Linked DNA regions of Homo sapiens: regions 2 and 3 are each linked to region 1. Evidence: promoter capture Hi-C in 16 types of primary human blood cells and fetal thymus (Javierre and others, 2016). All regions are on one chromosome and are shown on one strand. The core of a region is centred on a gene start or on the middle of the fragment in contact, and the rest is flanking DNA. Distances in the headings are between cores, read along the strand shown.

Region 1 (4,235 bases), core at 261-2,760:
AGATGACAGTATTTCAGATCCACTGTTGCTTGGAAATTTTGTTAGAATTTCTTGTAAAATATGTGTTTAACAGAAATCCTGCCAGCATTTACAGTTTTAAATCTTTAAGGAAAGGACACAAAAGCAAAGTTGGAAAAAATTTTAGCTTTACCATTATTTGCTTGTTCAAGATTCTTAACCATTAATATCTTTAATTTTTACAAGGCTAAAGGAGCCCCAAATCTAACAAACTTAAGTGTCTTTGGTTTAAGGCATACTATTGGTAACGAGTAATTTTATCTTTAATAGTTTTTATAATGCATGTAAAAAAAGCTCCCAGATAGAATATTGAAGGAAACCTCTTATGTGTGCTTAACAAAATTATTTCTACCTAAAATATTACATATTTTTGGCCTTTTAGTCATGAATTTAATTACATCTTCTGGGTTCTTATTTTCTATTGTTAATACCACTTACATAATGCTTTTGTGTGTATATCAATAACTTAGCTTTTCCAAGTGATTCCATTTGTAGCAAGTTTAATTTCTGTCATCCAAATTAAATTACTATTACATGTAAGCCTGGAAAGCTATTTAAAATTTTGAGTTGGAACAAGAAATGCCATAGATTAATCTTAAATCTGTACAAGAATTTCTGCTTAATATTTGGTTATACTGTAATTGAGATTTTGTTGCAAAGACTTTCAACTATTTTTGTATCTTAGCTTTGTTTTATGACTACACTGAGAAATCCAACAGTTTATGTATATCTTCAGCACACACACTGTGGCTGCAGGAAGAGAAACTAATTGTGTTCACGACTATTTAGTTTGTATTCCTTTGTTTTTAATCATTGTGCTGTAAGCCTTATACATTTAATCTGTTACTTGTTAAAATTTCTTTCTACTGTCACTAAAGCACTTGTTTTCAGAAACCCAGCATGGCATGCATGTATCAGTCTGTAATCATATACACTAAACATCATTAAATTGAACCTCAAATAATGCATTAACCATTGCACAGTACTTAATGTTTTTATGTCAAGTTGCAAGATAAAACCTTTTTCAGATGAGATAAACTGTAGTATATTCCAAAGGTCTTTGTTTAGTAAAAGATTCTGAAATTTCTACTACAAATATAAAATAGTTATGCATTTGCTATACATAATATTTTTAAATAAAAGAAATATTAAATACCTTTTTGTGTCTGTTGATTCAGTGAATCCAGAAACTTGCTGCCCTTATTCTTGATTTTAAAAATCAGTGTAGAAGTTTGTTCATCTGTGACTTTAATGGCAGCTGCATTTTTGTTTTGGACCGTTGAATCCAAGCTGTAAGAAGGAACTTCTTTTTCCTTTTACAATACTAATCAATTGAATTTGACAAGCCACCTATGTAATTTTAAGTAGTATAGTGGAAGTTCTGGTCTGTGGGCCGTCTTTAATCCAGCAGAGAAAGCGTTGTGGCTTTGCTCTGTCTGCCACATGGAGAAATGCAGTAACCAGCTGCAGCTGACCCAGATTGTATATACAGTACCCCTGAATAGTGATTCCCTCTTTCTCAGTAGACTCAAGTTCAGCCCACATATTACATCACCAAAAATTGCTGGAGACTGGGGGCGGGAATCTCCTTAGGATTTCCTCTTTGTAGCCTTAAATAGGGGGGTGGGATCAGCAGGAGGTTGAATAGTTTTGAACAAGGAGAGATTGTGTGCAGGTTGAAGGAAGGGCACCATCTGGAAACAAACTATCATAGTTCAGCGGGCAATTATAAAACAAACATTTTAGTCTGCTGGCCAGAGATCTTTTAAGTTGAATACCGAAAAAAAAAATAGTGCTCCACTTCACTTAGAAGTAGTTGCAGGCTGATGAGTTTGGTTTTTGTTAACAAAGAACAAGAGCTAGACTTTGTCAGGAGGCAGCCACCTAAATAATGTAATAAATACTCTTTATAGCCTAGAAGAATTTGTAAACATTTTACTAAGTTGCTAATGAAGGTTTTAAACTTACAAGAAACTTGATGTTGTTGTAGTATGTTATGTCTTACTGTGTAATGTGTCTTAAGATAAAACAGCCTTTATATATAATTACCAAACATAAGTGAAATTCTTTCAGATGCTTAAGACTTTTAAATATTACATTCTGGTGTTACATAATGTCATATCCTCCTATTCTACAAAATGACCTCTCCTCTCTGTAAAAGGTCATTCTTGTTATTAATTGATGTGGTGTGGTTTAAAAACAAACATAACCCTGAACTGAGTAAAAAACAAGGAAGCTCTGACTCTATGCCAGCTATGTGAACTTAGACAAATCACTTTACCTGCCTCTGGCAAGGTTCTTCTGCTATGAAATAAGGTGGTGGAAGAAATGAATAAGTGTTGAGTACAACTATACTATTGTATTTCATTAATTGAAGAAATGTTAAATAACTCAGTAGCTGAAGAAACACAAACTTAGGCTTAAGTAACTTAGCTTAGCACTTAAGTACTAAGTAGTGGAACTGGGATTTGAATCTAATGCCAAAGCATTATGCCACACTCTCTGTCATTGATTACCTAGTTGCTGTAAGCTGCTTCTAGATAAAACTTTTGGGCTTTCTCTACATACCTGTGCTTTCCCTTCCTTATTGCTGTAGCTTGTGCTGTGTTTCTCTTTCTGTTAGGCCACACTGTTGATCCACATCCTTTATTTAAAGTCTGAGCTTATTTTCTACCTCTTTCACAGAATCATTTATTTGAATTCCTATGCCATATATAGGTATACCAGAGGTTGCAAACACAAGGGCCTAGAAAGGCAAATGCTCACAAGAAGAATGGAGCAGGTAATATAAATCAGTGAAGTAAATCAGTAGTAAGATACTGGAGGGAAATGAAGTTTATGGCAAGTTGGCATCCTTTTGGTTAATTTAAAGGGATCTGCCTGCACCTTCTCAGCTGTGCTTGTGGCCATGAAGGATTATGAGACAGTGTTGCCAGATCTTCCCATTATTCAGGAAAAAAGAGCCATTTAGATTTTTCCTGTAATACTTCCTGATTTTAAAAAACATTGGGACAGATGTGCTGCCAGCTTCTGGCCTCTGATTTGTATTATGTATCGTTTCTTGAGCATTCAGTAATTATGTTGTAGTCACTAATGGCTTAAATCTGGGAAAAATAAGAGATAATAAATTCTTTCTGAGCTTTTAAACTTTCAGCAGTTTGGAGCTTTCTAACTTGAGCACTTAGTAATATCACTAGCCAGGGTAGGAAATTGGAATGACAGGTATTTAGGGACAGATTATGGTTAGATATGTTAAATTGAAAATGAAAGTCAGGAGCTCAGTTATATGGAGAGATTTGAAAGTCACCAGCAATTAGGTAGTAGCTAAAGCTATGGAACTAAGATACTAGAGAAAGTACATGTAGAATGTAAAGGAAGGTTAATGACAGACCATGATACCAATTTCCAGGAAACCAGCTTACAAGAAACATGAGGAAAAAGAAGAATGGTGGGGGCTTAGGGGGAAGATACGAAAGTTCAAGGTAGGGAAAACCTGAGAACTAGACGAGAATGGTTACAATACTGCAGAGACATTACATAGGGAGGGGAGACCAAGAGAGATGTTTTAAGACTTAGAATGAGAAAGTTATTAATGCCATTGCCAAAATAAGTGATACATACAGATTTCAGATTATTTAGTGTGTTGAAGGGTGACTAGATAAAATTTAACTGACAAATTAGTGTCCACAATACATTAAGAAATTAGAAATCCATAAGAAAAAGACAACCCAAAAGAAAAAATGAACAGAAACATTTATTACATAGAAATATATACGTTTAACCTTATTACTAATCAAGGAAATAAAAATTAAGACACAGAGAGATACCATTTTATACTCAGAAGATTGGCAAAATTGAGATGGATAATACCAATTGTTAGCACAAATGTGGATCAACAGAAGCTTATATACCGTGAGTGGGAGTATGAATTGATACAGCTTTGAAAAATAATGTGACACCATCTTGTAAAGTTGAATATTAATATACTTTAGCACTTGGCAGTTTTGCTCCTAGGCATGTTTGTATATCCTGAAGAAATTTTGTACATGTGTACTGGGAGATGTGTATAAGAATGTCTATAGCAACATGGTTGGGGGTGGGATGGGAGTAACTCAAAAGTCTATCAAATAAAATGGATGAGTTACAATTGTCACACATTAGCTTGTTCTCATTATAAGGAATTACAGCAGCATTTAACAGCGTGGACAAGTCTTAGA
Region 2 (4,235 bases), core at 535-3,034, 41 kb before region 1:
CTGTTAGAATAGCTGTTATCAAAAAGCCAAAAGATAACTAACGAGTTTTGGTAAAGATGTGGAGAAAAGGGAACTGTTGTACAGTGTTGGTGGGAATGTAAATTGGTACAGTCATGGAAAACAGTATGGAGATTCCCCCAAAAATAATAATAGAACAATTATGTGATCCAGCAATCCCATTTCTGAGTATGTGTCCAGAGAAATTGAAATTGATATGTCAAAGAGATATCTGCACTCCTATGTTCGTTGCAGCATTATTCACAATAGCCAGGATATGGAACCAACCTAAATGTCCATCAGCAGATGAATGGATAAAGAAAATGTGGTTTATATACACAATGGAATACTATTCAGCCTTACATTTACAACAGCATGGATGAATTTGGAGATCATTATCCTCAGTGAAATAAGCTAGATACAGAAAGACAAATGCTACTGCACAATTTCACTTATCTGTGAAATCTTACCAGGCTGAACTCATAGAAGCAAAAAGTAGAAGGATGGTTGCTGAGGGGCAGGGGAAATGTTGGGTCAGTAGGTACAAAGTTTCAGTTATGTAGAACAGGGGTCCCCAAACCCCGGGCTGCTGACCAGTGCTGGTCCATGGCCTGTTAGGAACCAGGCCACAGCAGGAGGTGGGCAGCAGGCAAGTGAGCATTACGGCATGAGGTCCATCTCCTGTCAAATCAGTGGCAGCATTAGATTCTCATAGGTACATGAACCCTATTGTGAACTCCGCATGTGAAGGATCTAGGTTGTGTGCTCCTTATGAGAATCTAATGCCTGATGATCTGAGGTGGAACAGTTTCATCCCAAAACCTTTCCCCATTCATGTTCATGGAAAAATTGTCGCTGGTGCCAAAAAGGTTAGGGACCACTAATGGAGAGAGAATAAGTTCTGGAGATCTAATGTACAGCATGAGGACTATAGTTGACTATAGTTAATAAGACTATGTTGTATACTTGAACTTTTCTGAGAGAGTGGATCTTTTTAAATTTTATTTATTATTTATTTATTTTTATTTTTTTTGAGATGGAGTCTCGCTCTATCACCCAGGCTGTAGCGCAGTGGCACAATCTTGGCTCACTGCAATCTCCACTTCCCAGGCTCAAGTGATTCTCCTGCCTCAGCCTCCTGAGTAGCTGGGATTACAGGCGCCCACCATTTTGCCCAGCTAATTTTTATATTTTTAGTAGAGATGGCGTTTTGCCTTGTTGGCCAGGCTGGTCTCGAACTCCTGACCTCAAGTGATCTGCCTGCCTTGGCCTCCCAAAGTGCTAGGATTACAAGCTTGAGCCACCGTGTCCAGCCTAAAAGAGTGAATCTTAAATGTTCTTACCATACAAATACATAAGAAGTAACTAACTTTGTGAGATGATGGATATGTTAATTAGCTTGATAGCTTGATAATAATTTCATTATATATGTGTATTAAAACATGTACACCTCAAGTATATGCAATTTAAATTTGTCAGTTATACCCCAGTACTGCTGGTGGAAGATTGATTGTAAAATTTATATGGAAATTTAAAGGTTCAGGAATAGCTAAAGAAGACAATGGGAATTGGGGAGATAAGCACTTGGCCTAACAGATGTCAGGATATACTAGATTCTTGGACAGTGTATGATTCCTGCAGTTTTAGACATATCTACCAATGAAACAGAATGAAGAACCCAGAAATACCTCCTTGTTTTTACAGGATTCTGATACGTGTATGACAGAGGTGGCATTGTAAGTTGGTAAAGAAATGAGGGGCTGTTTATTAATTGGAGCTGCAAAATTGGTCACCAGTTTGGGGGAAAAAATGAAATCAGGCCCCTTGCGCCATTCACAAAAATCCTTGTGAGATGACTCAAGGGCTTAAATGTGAAATGAAAAACTTCAGTTTTTTAGAAGGAAAAATATATGTGAATATCTCTCTGGTTTGGCATGAATAGATTTCTGGCTTTGGATAAGTAAGGATTTTTTAGATAAGATACAGAAAGCTCCAACAATGAAAAAAATAATAATAAATTTTGTCATGTTAGAGTAAGAATTTCTGTTCATCAAAAGATACCTTAAAATGGAAAAGAGGATGCAGTGGGCGGAAGATATGTGCAACAGTTAGTTGTCCAACTAGAATGTGTCCAACACAAGAATTTGCATCCAGAACTCTTAACAACGAAAAAAGAAAAAAAATAGAAAAATTAACATTATAAATGTATTTTGTAGAGGAGAGGATACACATAGAAGCAGTGAAAATGAATGAACTATAGCTTCCCACAACTTCATGGATGAAGCTTTAATATCACAATGTTATATGAACAAAGTAATTGCCAAAGACTAAAAATGAAATAAAAGTTAAAATGGAATAAAATTTGCCAAAAATGAAATAAAATTTGAGGGGAATGATAAACAGAACATTCAGAGTAGTGGTTACTGGTTACCTCTTAAAGGCAGTCAAGGCAATTGGATGGAAGATGAGTCATGTGTGTTCGTTATAAAGTTTAAATCCATTTAACAAAGCCATACCAGGCTCTAATGATAATTGAGTGTCACAAACAAAAGATTATAATTAATCTGCACCCCGGGTCTAAGATAAAGTATTCATTTATGCAGTTGCACACATTCACACATATTGTGTGAAGATACAAACCAAGGTGATGAGGAATAATCTGGGAGTTTGTGTTTCCTGGGGTGACTGACATGAGCGGGCATTCATCTAGGTTTTCCCCCAAAACAGATTGTGGTGGTAAGGTGGTGTTAGATATCTGGTCAGGAACATCTAGAATTCTGTGGGTCTCCTCTTTCATTAATATCAATGAAAGTGTGAAGAGGCTTGCCCCCATTTGTCATGCTCTTGGTGCCAAGGACATGTAGAAGTAGAACACTGTGAAGTATTTTGTCCGCCCCGCCCCCCCCACCCCCAGCGGTTTTTGGAGGGGAAAATACAGTAAAGAGACTTTTTAAATATAACATTATAAATATCAAAAGAAGATTTGAAAAGAAGAAAGAAAAGGCTTCTCAGTTAATAGAGCTTCTGAGCTATCATTCAGGAAATACCTATATTAACATCTAATTAGTTCTTTATATTCATATTCTTCCTCTAGTCTTCTGGAAACAAGTCTCTCCTACCACAACTCAGATTGAATTCTATTTATCTGATTATTGATTTATTATGAAAATTACAAAATCATGTTATAGTTTGTTATAACAGTTCTGTGTTTCAGCTGTGGCAAGATTAGTTACGAGTTCTAAGTAATTTGTTTCTCCTGGTATTGTACCAAAGTTTTTGAATGATTGACTTAGGGGAAAATAAAGAGCAGGTTTATCATTATCCCTATGTCACATAACTATATTTTGCATATCCAGATACTTCCTTAAGTGGTAAAGAGTTAGATATACAGGCAGCAAGCAAACATTTGCACCTAATCTTGAGATTACTAATCAAGTATCTTGAAAGTGGAGTAAGAGAAAATTGTAAAACCGCTGTTTTAGACCATGGAATATCCATCTAAAACATTAAAGCAAAGGACCCCTTGACGTTGTATTTTAAAGAGGGAGCGATACTGTTGAGACATTTTTCTAATAGAGATTTTCTGAAGATAGTCTGCATCTTTGAGCCTCTGAACAATAGATCCCAACTGTACTACTTATAATACTAGAAAGAGTAGTGGATTAGGTGTCAGAATATTCTTATCTCCAGAACCAGACTATAAGATCCTGAAAAACAAGGACATACATCTTTGTGAGTGAGTGGGTAACAGAGAGTATTATATTCTGCTGCTTGCTAACCTTGTGATCTCAGTCTCTTCATCTCTAAATTAATACTCATACTTTTTTGTTAATCTCATAGGAAAATTAGGTGAGACTTACATAGGTGGAAATGTTTTGCATGCTGTAAAACAACACCAATATTTTAATATGAAATAAAGTGAAATCTAATGTAGTAATGAAATAGAAACTTCATGTCTAAATAAAAAAAAAAATTTTCCAGTCTTTGGAATGATTTGAAAAACTATTTCCTGAACCTTTTAGTGAACACCATTGTGGGTGACTGACTTTGCTTTTTTTTTTTTCAACTCCCCTTGATTATTTACATTGATCTCAAAGGCACTTACTGCAAATCTGCCTCTCAAGTGTCTTACAACAGTATCTTTTAGTTATGTTGTATGTGATATAGCACTGATCAAAGAGAAGAAAATATCAGAAATCCAAAAATGTAAGGAATTAAAGGATTTTACAGTTATTAGG
Region 3 (4,235 bases), core at 871-3,370, 36 kb after region 1:
TAAATTGTAGCTGTGGCCAGCTTTATTGTAGATATGGCTTTTTTTCACATTGACCTAATGTCTGTGTCTGAGTTCAGCAAGTGTAACGGTGTTACTTGACTAAACATTTGGTGAAGAAACAATTACTTCAGAAAGTGAAAAAGTTATTTTGAGTGTTAGAATCTCAAGGAAAAGCTGAATAATGCTTAAATATAGTTAGGCTCTTGAGCCATTGAATGCAGTTATTAAGGAAAGAATAGAATTCAGCACAAATTGTGAAATAAAAAGAACTTAGGTCAATGAAAAAAGGAAATAAAGCTTAATTTAGAGCAGCCTATAGTACATGGATCCTTTCTTTTCTCAATTTGTTTTCTCACCTTAATACATATAACCATTTAAAATATCCTCATTATATGTCAGTCTTGAATTAAAGTCAATATAGAAATTACAAAATACACACAGCACAAATGAATATCTAATTTCTTAAAAGAGAGAAAGTTGCCTCCTAGACTTTCCCCAAGAGCCCTCAACAGAACTGGAAATCTGTAATAATATTGACAAATATCTTGTAACTAAAGACTAAAAGCATAGTCTATCAATGTTATATGACTAATCCTTAATTATACTGAATAGCTAGTGTTTAAGTATTAAACATATTGAAGCATTCTGGCATGTTAAAACTTAACATTAACATCTACTAATATTTAGGCCAGGTGTGGGGGCTCATGCCTGCAATCCCAGCACTTTGGGAAGCCAAGGCAGGCACATCACTTGAGGTCAGGAGTTCGAGACCAGCCTAGCCAACATGGTGAAACCCCGTCTCTACTAAAAATACAAAAAACTTAGCTGGGCATGGTGGTGCACACCTGTAATCCCAGCTTATTGGGAGGCCGAGACACGAGAATCTCATAAAGCTGGGAGGCAGAGGTTGCAATGAGCTGAGATTGTGCCACTGCACTCCAGCCTGGGCGACAGAGCGAGACTCCATCTCAAAAAAAAAAAAATCTAATATTTAGATCATCTAAGTAGTAAGTATTCAGAACCAATATTCTGCAGTCTTATCCACACAGATCTAGAGATGCCACACAGTTATTTTATGTAGGTGTATTTCATTCTAAAGAATATTTAAGGAGACAAAATTATTTCTTCTAATTCATAAGCAGCAAAAGTGACTTTCTGAATATATGATAGCATGTAAATGTGTTGCATCGAGAACTCTTTATTGTATTGGAAATACAATAAAAATAGGAAATACAATAAAATGGAGGTGTTGAATAGAATTCTAAAACTGAAAACTCTAGTCATGTTTAATTTGCTCATTATTATCTGGCAGAATTATTATGTGTCGTCCTTACATTTTTAATATTTCCCCCTTATTTTGGATAATTTTAGGAAATTCGTACAAGTTTCAAGCTGGCAATAGAATGAATGCAATGTTATGGTTTAAGCATTTGAGTGCAGCCTGCCAAAGTAACAAACAACAGGTAAGCATTTCTCCTAATTCTCAGAATAGTCCATAATTTGGGAACATATGTAAAAGAGTTCCAAGAGAAGTAAACAGACTAGTTCTGAATTAACTAGGAGAATGGTGGTGTTTTTATTCTTGTTGATTACAGTTAATAAGATATGAAGGTCTACATCTTAGTGAGGAGCTAGACAGTAATCATGCAAACAAGTAACAAAATTTCGAACAGTCAGAACTATATAAAGAAAACAATAGACGTATGTGATATAGAGCAATGGGAGTACAGACAACTTTTGATAACATAAGGTTGGGCAGCAAAGATCTCCCTGAGGAGATGGTATTGACAAGAACCACAAGAAGGAACGAGCTATAAGAAGAGGAGAGCAGAGTGCTGTGTAAGGGAAGAGCAAGTGCAGGGAGCCTGAAGCTGGAACAAGCTTAAGGTGAGTTCAAAGCACAGAAAGGTAGCTAGTATAGTAGTCAGAGTATAGTTCTCTAAAGGGTAAAAATTAGATGGCATATTAAATTAATAAAAATTATTCGAATTCATCTTTATTTGATCTATTGACAATTTGATGTGGGTTTCTGTGGTGGTAGTGAAACCAAAAACCATTTAAATTTTGTTTGCTTTTATTTTACTGAAACAAAAATGGTCTAATTGAAAGGCTTTCAGCTGCAGAAGAGCAGGAATCCATTGTGTTGTTTTCCCCAAACCCTGTTGCACAGTTAGAGTTGAACCACAGATTGGTAGAGCAGACATAAAACACATAGCCACATTTATAGAAATTTATATAGACTTTTTGTAGAACCAGTTGTTTGTTAAATATATTTGAAAATCATTGACTTAGCATATTGATAATGCAGAAGTCTATGGTTAGCATTATCAGTAGGTAATATTGAATATGATGCACTATATAAGCTTAGAAAGCTTACAGAAGTATTTTTCACCCTGTCATATCAGGATGTAAGTTATTACCCTTTCTTGATAATTGAAACTAAGGCTCCATAATACAAAATGACCTACACAGGTCACACAAGTAAAAAATGGTGGATTCAAACTTTCTTCATCCTTTAAGTCCATTCTTTTTGTTTGTTTTTTGACTTTTGGGTTCAGAGGGTACTTGTGCAGGTTTGTTACATGGGTATATTGTGTGTCACTGAGGTTTGGTGTATAAATGATCCTGTCACCCAGTTAGTGAGCAGAGTACCCACTGGTTTTTCAACCGTCACCCCTCTCCCACCCTCCCCACTCTGGTAATGCTCAGTGTCGATTGTTCCCATCTTTGTGTCTAGGTGTATTCAATGTTTACCTCCCACTTACAAGTGAGAACATGCAGTATTTGGTTTTCTGTTCCTGGATTAATTCACTTAATGGTCTCCAGCTGCATTCATGTTGCTGCCAAGGGCATAATTTCACTGTTTTTTAAAAATCACTGTGTAGTATTCCATAGCATATATGTACCACATTTTCTTTATCCAATCCACTGTTGACAGGCACGTAGGTTGATTCCATGTCTTTGCTATAGTGTATACTGCTGGGATGAACATACATGTGTCTTTTTGGTAGAACAATTTATTTTCCTTTGGGTATATGCTCAGTAATGGGATTGCTGGGTTCAGTGGTAGTTCTGTTTCAAGATCTTTGAGAAATCTCCAAGCTGCTTTCCACAGTGGCTGAACTTACATTCCTACCAAGTGTATAAGCATTCCCTTTTCTCTGCAACCTTGCCAACATCTGTTATTTTTTGACTTAGCCATTCTGACTGGTGTGAGATGGTATCTCATTGCAATTTTGATTTGCATTTCTCTGGCAATTAGTGATATTGGCCGTTTTTCAAATGCTTGTTGGCCATGTGTATTTCTTCTCTTGAGAAGTGTCTGTTCATGTCCTTTGCCCACTTTTTAATGGGGTTGTTTTTTGCCTGTAAATTTAAGTTTCTTATAGATTCTAGATATTAGACCTTTTTCAGATACACAGTTTGAAAATATTTTCTCCCATTCTCTAGGAATGTTGGTTTATTCTGCTGATAGTTTCTTTTGCTCTGCAGAAGCTCTCTAATTAGGTCCTGTTTGTCAGTTTTTGTTTTTGTTGCAACTGCTTTTGGAGTCTTCATCATGAAGTCTTTGCCAGGGCCTGTGTCCAGAATGGTATATCCTAGGTTATCTTTCAGGGTTTTTATAGTTTTAGGTTTTGCATTTAAGTCTTTAATCCATCTTGAGTTGATTTTTGTATACAGTGTAAGGAAGGGGTCCAGTTTTAATCTTCTGTATATGGCTATCCAGTTATCCTAGCAGCATATTGAATAGGGAGCCTTTTCCCCATTGCTTGTTTTTGTCAGCTTTGTCAAAGATCAGATGGTAGTAGGTGTGAGGCATTATTTCTGGGCTCTCTATACTGTTCCATTGGTTCTATCCTGTTCCATTGGTATCTGTTTTTGTACCAGTACCATGCTATTTTTTGGTTACTGTAGTCTTGTAGTATAGTTTGAAGTCAGGTAGTGTGATGCCTTCAGCTTTGTTCTTTTTACTTAGAATTGCTTTAGCTATTTGGGCTTTTGTTGTTGTTGTTGTTGTTGTTGTTCCCATATGAATTTTCTAATGGTTTTTTCTAATTCTTTGAAGAATGTCATTGGTAGTTTGATAAGAATAGCATTGAATCTGTAGGTTGGTTTGGACAATATGGACATTTAACAGTATTGATTCTTCCAATCCATGAGCATGGAATGCTTTTCCATTTGTTTGTGTCATCTCTGATTACTTTGAGCAATTTTTGTAATTCTCTTTTTCTTTT

Evidence for each region. Contacts are between HindIII fragments. The CHiCAGO score rates a contact against its expected background, and 5 or more counts as called.
Region 2: a contact is called between a fragment that was not itself captured here and the fragment with the promoter of ANGPTL1 in region 1, in 1 of 17 cell types (total B cells). The highest score is 5.5, in total B cells.
Region 3: a fragment that was not itself captured here is called in contact with the fragment with the promoter of ANGPTL1 in region 1 in 1 of 17 cell types (total B cells); the score reaches 5.7 in total B cells.

Annotation. Positions count from the first base shown.
Region 1 is chr1:178,869,567-178,873,801 of GRCh38, forward strand. It overlaps ANGPTL1 (angiopoietin like 1), which reads right to left and starts at 1,511. Exons shown (of 6, transcript NM_004673.4): 1 at 1,175-1,511. The region is part of intron 8 of RALGPS2 (Ral GEF with PH domain and SH3 binding motif 2); the gene reads left to right. The HindIII fragment of the contact is 10,209 bases long and covers 1-3,918 here.
Region 2 is chr1:178,828,733-178,832,967 of GRCh38, forward strand. The region is part of intron 7 of RALGPS2 (Ral GEF with PH domain and SH3 binding motif 2); the gene reads left to right. Among named protein-coding and RNA genes, the nearest start is that of ANGPTL1, 40 kb to the right of the region's middle. The HindIII fragment of the contact is 990 bases long and covers 1,290-2,279 here.
Region 3 is chr1:178,905,405-178,909,639 of GRCh38, forward strand. RALGPS2 (Ral GEF with PH domain and SH3 binding motif 2) reads left to right here. Exons shown (of 20, transcript NM_152663.5): 19 at 1,372-1,463. Among named protein-coding and RNA genes, the nearest start is that of ANGPTL1, 36 kb to the left of the region's middle. The HindIII fragment of the contact is 482 bases long and covers 1,880-2,361 here.